2 separate regions of the Homo sapiens genome follow, and region 2 is linked to region 1. Evidence: promoter capture Hi-C in human tissues and cell types (Jung and others, 2019). All regions are on one chromosome and are shown on one strand. Each heading gives the region's core, a stretch centred on a gene start or on the middle of the fragment in contact. The rest is flanking DNA. Distances are from core to core; before and after follow the strand shown.

Region 1 (3,463 bases), core at 1-2,500:
CGCAGTGGTCCATGCCTGGAATCCTAGCAGTCTGTGAGGCCGAGGCAGGAGGATCGCTTGAGGCCAAGAATTTGACACTAGCTGGGGCAACACAGCGAGAGCCCTGTTTACAAACACACACACACACACACACACACACACACACACACACAGAAAAAAAAAGCTAAAAATTAAATTTAAAAATAAATAAATGGAAACAGCCAAAAAAGATCAAAAGGGGGTGGGTTGCAAGTGAGAACATGTCCATGGAAGTCAGTCCGCTATCAGACGCCCTGTGGCTCTCCCAGGTGCAACCAGAAGAAAGCTGTAGAGGGTAGGAAGCAGTCATATCTAGCGATTCTTTCCAGGCTAAAGGAGCTGGATAAGTGTCATCCAGCTGGAAAGTGCACGTGGTAGGAAAAGGCAGTCAAAAAGAGAACTAGCCAAGCAAGGCCTTTCTTCTGGGTTTTTCCAGCAGGAATCCTAAGTGACGCCTGCCCCGCTCCCCGACCCTCCTCTACCAAATAATCCCATCAAGGTGGCTGGTTTCAACACTTCATTCTTTCCTCTTCCCAAGGACCCCAATTCCTGGCCCTTCTACCCTTAAACTCTTTCCTGGCTCTTCTGCACTTCATCCAGTCCGGGGATCCTGCCTCCTGCATGCCACCCTAAGATGTGGTTAGAGGTAGCGCAAGGCCATCTCCCCAGCCAGTGGTCCCTGAGGCCCCTCTGTCAGTCTCCCACTTCCTATGTCCCCATCCCCAAGGCCCAGTGCGCTGTAGGCTCTTCCTGCCTTGCCCCCCATCCCTAAGGGTCCTATGCCCAGTACCCCACTTCCCCGTGATCTTTCCTCCATCCCTGGTGCCATCCCCATCCTCCAGGCCCCGTGTCCTGAACTCTTTCCGGGGACCGCTTCCCCTCTCGGGTTCTCCCGAGCGCCCAAGGCAGCCAGCGCCAACCTTTGACATTCTCTGAGGCCTCTAATAATCTGGTCGGAGTTATTCTGAGGCGGGAATCCTTCTTTAGAGACTTCATGGTGCCGCCCGGCACCATGAAACGTTGCCCTGCACCGCCGGCCCAGAGACACCGAGGCTGCGCCGCACCCGCCAGCCAACGGCCGCCACTGCGTCCACAGCAACCGGTGCCCCGCGCGGGGGCGCGCATCCACCGATCAACTTGGGCGGAGACGGCTTGGAAACCTCCTTCTTCATCGGGCCGCGCACGCGCCCGCCGCCGGCGGCTTCAAGAGCGACGGACCCCTAGAAAGCCCTGCGGGCCCGGCCTGTGACGCCACAGGCGGCGCCGACGAGCGCCGTGACGTCACCAGCCGGGCGGGGCGGGGCGGGGGACCCGGGCGAGGACCCCCGCGAGTTGCGGGAGCCGAGGGCTGGGTGGGAGTGGCTGGCTGGTAGGGGTGCATGACCCGCCTCGCCCCGCCCTGCTGCTAGGCCACGGGGGGCGGGTGGGGCGTCGGGGGTGCCAGCCCCTGCTTCCCGCCTTCCTCGACTAAGGCCACATCCTGTCGAGGGACCTCCCTCTGCCCCCCTCACAGCGGTTCTGGGGGGGGATCGGGCCTTTCAGGACGTGCTGAAACCCCTTCGTGGCGTACCGTAGGTTTTAGGTGTCCCTGCCTGCCGTCCCCAACTCGCACCAACGCGCCTGGAGACCTCCCGGGTCCACGCTCGCTGCAGCCACTTTGGCCTTTCATCACTTCCCAAACCAGCCAAAACTTTTGCCCTGACTTGGGGCATTCTCACAGTCCTTGGAGATGCTGCCTCTGATTATTTTAAGTTTATAAACGCACCCGCTTTTTTCGCCTTCCCCTGGAGCCCTGAGGCATTCTGGGATTATTTCGGTTTTTTGTGTAGTTGCCTATTGTCAAACTGGCTCTCAGAATGTATGAGAGCAGGAGCTGCCTCAGGCCCTGCCCCCAACCCAAAGTTTAGCACTAGTAGTCAGGCAGTAAATTGTACCTCAAATAGTGAAGGGGTTCTAGAGCCAGACAATTGGGTTCTAATCCCAGCTATGTCGGCTTGTTAGCTGTGTGTTCTTGAGCCAATGCCTTGACCTAGAGAGCCGGTTTTCTCTGCTGGGCACAGTGGTTCAGGCCTACAATCCTAGTGCTTTAGAAGGCTGAGGCAGGAGGATTGGTTGAGGCCAGGAGTTCAAAATTGACCTGAGCAACGTAGGGAGACTCCATTCTAAAAAAAAAAAAAAATTTTTTTTTTTTTTTTTTTGAGACGGAGTCTTGCTCTGTGCCCAAGCTGGAGTGTAGTGGTGCCATCTCGGCTCACTGCAACCTCTGCCTCCCAGGTTCAAGCGATTCTCCTGCCTCAGCCTCCTGAGTAGCTGGGATTACAGACGAGTGCCACCATGCCTGGCTAAGTTTTGTATTTTTAGTAGAGATGGGGTTTCACCAGTTGGTCAGGCTGGTCTCGAACTCCTGACCTCGTGATCTGCCCGCCTCGGCCTCCCAAAGTGCTAGGATTACAGGCGTGAGCCACCGTGCCTAGCCTAAAAAAATTTTTTTTTAATTAGCTGGCTTTGGTGGCCCACACCTGTAGTCTTAGCTACTCTGGAGGCTAAGGCAGGAAGATTGCTTGAGCCCAGGAGGTCCAGGCTGCAGTGAGCTCTGATTGCACCACTGTACTCCAGCCTGGGCAACAAAGTGAGATCCCCATCTCATACATCCATACATACATATATACATACATAAAATGGAGGTCATAATGCTGCTCTCACAAGGCCACTGCCAGGGTTAAATGAATATGTATGTATTTCTTTTTCTTAGCGAGTATCTCACTCTGTTGCCCAGGTTGGAGTGCAGTGGCACAATCATAGCTCACTGCAGCTTCAAACTCCTGAGCTTAAATGATCCTGCTGCCTTAGCCTTCCGAGTAGCTGGGACTACAGGCATGTGCCACTGCACCCAGCTAATTATTAAATTTTTTGTAGAGACAGGGTCTTGCTATGTTGTTCAGGCTGGTCTTGAACTCGTGGGCTTAAGCGATCCTCCCGCCTTGGCCTCTCAAAGTGTTGGGATTACAAGCATGAGCCACCTCACCTGGCCTGAGTGTGCATTTAAACTACGAAACAGGGTGCCCTCCATAAACTGTAGTATCTTCTCAGTCAATTCTCAAAATCATGCTGGGGTTGAAGGGAGGGGACACATTATAAGCCCATTTTACAAACGGAGAAACTGAGCTCCAGAGAGAAGGGTGTAATGTCACCTGACTAGCGGGAAGCACAAATTGAACCTGGTTTTCTAAAGTCCAAGGCCAGGGCTCTTTGAACCCTGTCTCCTGGGACATTTCTGAGTTTGCAAGAGCTGCCCCAGACAGCGGAGGAGCTAGAGACGATGCCAGCAGTGCTGGTGAATCCCTGAGTTCCCTGTGTGTTGCCCGTTGCTGGGTCCTGCTCCAGGGCCATGGCCCCTTCTTCACACTGCTCTAGACCTTGCTCTCCTTATGACTGAGGCATCCTC
Region 2 (3,463 bases), core at 399-2,898, 610 kb before region 1:
CAGATCAAGACTTTTTCTAGTTTTCAAATATGAAAGGTTAAGAAGAGAAAGGGCATTTGCGGCTCACAGCCAACCAGCTGGTCGGCATTCCTACTACCCAAATATCTAAATGACATAAGGGTGAATGTGGGGTGAGGGTGAGAACGGGAAAAAACACAGGCCGCAAATTCAGTCCCATCTGGCACTTCATAAGACTTAGTATTTTCATCTTTGTCCTTCCAAATTTATAGGTTTACTCTTGCCCAACCTTCATATTGTTTTTATGGGTCTCCAGGTGGGTCATGCGTAGGAAACTTTAGGGGACTACTTCATACTTGGTGGGAAGTACTTAAACTTGTAAACCCCAAGCTAAGGGTAGTTATGATCCCGGTGGGTGGCCAATTCTCCCCTTAAACCTATGTTTATCCTGCCTTTCCTCCCCCTTTTCTTAAACGAGTCGGGACGGAGAGCTGAGTCACCTGAGACACAGAGAAGGGACTTTTGAGAGTGTCTTCCGTCCCATTTGCGGACGTTAGATGAGCACACCGGGATCCTTGACTCAGCCCGCTCTAGGCGTGGGCGTTGTGTCATTCCCCACACGTGACACTCTCCCAGGCGGCAGAAACCTCACTTGTCATGGGACTTATTCACTCCAGTGACTCCACCCCTTACCTCCTCTGTTCCCCAACCTCCCACTTACCCTTTCCGCCCCACTTCAAGACTTGAGGAGAGGAGGGTGGCTGGAGCCTGGAAATGTCCCCGTCCCAAGTTGGCCAGAAGTAGCAGACACACTATGTGGGAAAGTGCCACATGTAACGTTCCAGTTTCACCCTTCTCCAGAATGCTATCACCCTTCCTGTTTATTTTTTAATAACTTGAGATATAATTCACACGCCATATGATTCACTCACTTAACGTGTAAAGTTGAATGTCTTTTAGCATATTTAGAGTTGTGTATTCATCACTATAATACATTTTTTAGAACATTTTTATTATCCCAAAACGAAATCCCATACCTATTAGCAGTCACTCCCATTTCCCCTCATCTCACCCTTGCTCTTCCATAGCACAAAACAGTTCTATTCTATTCGAGACCACCTTTCCACTTGGGCAGACCCTGGTTATGGTTTTTTTTCCCTCCCTTTCTGTTTCCAGTTTTTTTCGGAGCCCGGAATTCTCAATCTGGGTAATTGGTTTGAGTCCCGGCTCAGCCCGTTTCCCGTTGTAGCTGCGTGACCTTGAGAGCAACGCCACTTTCCTGGGCCTAGTTTCTTTGTCTGTGAAACGAGGTCCAAATATCTACCTCTTTACGCCTGTTGTGGGGATGAAGTGAGTAGGTGCTTTGTGAGCTTTAAAAAGCCATAGAAATGCCAGCTAAGTTAACTCGTCACTCTTCCCGAACCCCTCCCTTTCCCCTGGGACCCGCCCCGCGAATCCCGCTGTGGATGGATACTTCTCCCCACCCGCCGACCGCAGTCTTTCCCATTGGCGCCCGCACCGTCTTCGCGGCGCCGGGTGTTGACGCCATGGCTTCCTCCGCCAGCGCCCGAAGACGCTTGGCCCCGCCCCCGGCCGCGCCTGGCCTCCCGCGGCGCCCCGCCCATCGGGCCGACGCGGCGCCGGCCCCGCCCCGCGGATGACGTGTGGCGCGCGCGGCCGGGCCGCCCCGGCAGTTGGTGCAGCGGCGGTTGGGGTGAGAGCGCCTACGCCACCCCTCCCCTCCTCCGGCCCCGGCCCCCACCCCGCCGGGCCCAGCCCCAGCCCCGGCCCGGGCTCCAGCCCTAGTACCCGTCCCAGCCCGAGTCGGGTCCGTCCCGTGCGGGCAGGTGCCGCCCCTCTGCCGGCGACGCCCCGGGCCGCCCGCCCGTCCGCTTGCCACCATGGAGCTGGAGGACGGTGTGGTGTATCAGGAGGAGCCCGGCGGCTCCGGGGCCGTGATGTCGGAGCGGGTGTCCGGCCTGGCCGGCTCCATCTACCGCGAGTTCGAGCGGCTTATCGGGCGCTATGACGAGGAGGTGGTCAAAGAGCTGATGCCGCTGGTGGTGGCTGTGCTGGAGAACCTGGACTCGGTGTTCGCGCAGGACCAGGAGCACCAGGTGGAGCTGGAGCTGCTGCGGGACGACAACGAGCAGCTCATCACCCAGTACGAGCGGGAGAAGGCGCTGCGCAAGCACGCTGAGGAGGTGAGGCCGGCGGCAGGGCGGGGGCCGCGGGATCCGTCTCCGGGGGCGGCCGGGGCGGGGTCGCGGCCCGGTCGGGGACTAGAGGCGCGACGGGCCTCCTGGAGGGCGGGCCTGAGGCCGATGCCCCCTGGGACCGATCCCGGCGGCCTCCAGGTACCCCGGGAGCCAGGCCGGCGTTGGAAGCCGAGGCCGGCTACTGAGTGTCCTGGGAAGGGAGCGAGATGGAGGAGGCAGGGCCCGGGGAGGAAGCGGCAGCCTGGCCTGAGGACACCTGGGGTTGGCCAAGGGCGGAGATTGTTGGGTGTCTGGTTGCTTCTTGTTGAGGGAAGTTTCCGACCACCGTGGGATAGTCAGATGGCGGTTCAAAGTTTTACCCTTGGGGAGGGGGACACTTCTGCCCTGGATATGTAACTTCCGCTAGTTCCAGTACCTTTCCAGGGGGTTGCCTTGCTTTGGGAAGTTAGAGATCTCCCTCTTTCGGTCAGTTTCTTCTTGACGTTTTAATCTTGTTGAGAAAGACGTCTTATTTTATGTTCTATGTGCCTTGGTTGACACTTTGTCAACTTTTAGATGTTGTGTGGCAGTACTCAATAAATATATAAACAATTTCGTTGGTATCCCAAACCAAAGCATTCCTCCGTATCAGGTTGTAACCTTGGACAGTTCCCTTCAAAAACCCTCCGTTTATTTATAAAAAGGATTGGGGGGCGGGGTTGGGAAGATGTAGGTGACAGTTGGCAACACTTTTTCCGTCTGAGTTTCCTTCTTAGACTGCTGTTTATACGTGCATTTGGCCACCTGTTAACTCTAGCACCCGAGCAGTGACCTGGGCGCCCTCACCTCGACTCTGTGAACCTTTTGGAGTTCTAGGGTGCAAGTGATAGGTCCTTGGCTTCTTGAGACTGACAAGGAGTTTAGCTTTCAGCCTGCGTTGGCGTTATTTCTGTGGACCTTATCAAAGGCAGGTGATGTGTCCTATTTTTGTTTCTCAAGCACCTAGCACACCTGCTTAAATACATGGTGATCAAAGGAGGCGAAATAACTAATTATTGAAGGAATGACATAGTATTTTTCAAAAAGACTTGAAGAGTTTTTAGGATGTGAGGTTTGTAGCTCATTTCCTGACACTGAATAGTAACACCATTAAATTTTTGTTTTATTTTGTCACGTATACCTTTGCATCTGGTTAAATAGTTCTTTTTCCTTTTTTAAAAGCTTGACTGTAGTGATGATTTTTAGTTCTGATTGTGGGATCCAATTTTCTCAAAGGAATGCTATTGAATTTGCCAAACAAAATTGCC

The links. Contacts are between HindIII fragments. The study calls those that stand out against the background at their distance.
Region 2: the fragment with the promoter of SPAG9 here is called in contact with the fragment with the promoter of MYCBPAP in region 1 in 1 of the 25 tissues and cell types used here (neural progenitor cells).

Annotation. Positions count from the first base shown.
Region 1 is chr17:50,506,226-50,509,688 of GRCh38, reverse strand. MYCBPAP (MYCBP associated protein) reads right to left here and starts at 1,250. Exons shown (of 19, transcript NM_032133.6): 1 at 939-1,250. The coding sequence starts at 1,014. RefSeq lists enhancers at 1,025-1,154, 1,175-1,234 and a silencer at 1,255-1,544. The HindIII fragment of the contact is 18,604 bases long and covers 1-3,463 here.
Region 2 is chr17:51,119,053-51,122,515 of GRCh38, reverse strand. It overlaps SPAG9 (sperm associated antigen 9), which reads left to right and starts at 1,648. Exons shown (of 30, transcript NM_001130528.3): 1 at 1,648-2,162. The coding sequence starts at 1,860. RefSeq lists enhancers at 297-556, 1,166-1,395, 912-1,726, 2,016-2,135 and silencers at 1,536-1,915, 2,166-2,245, 2,266-2,395. The HindIII fragment of the contact is 17,249 bases long and covers 1-3,463 here.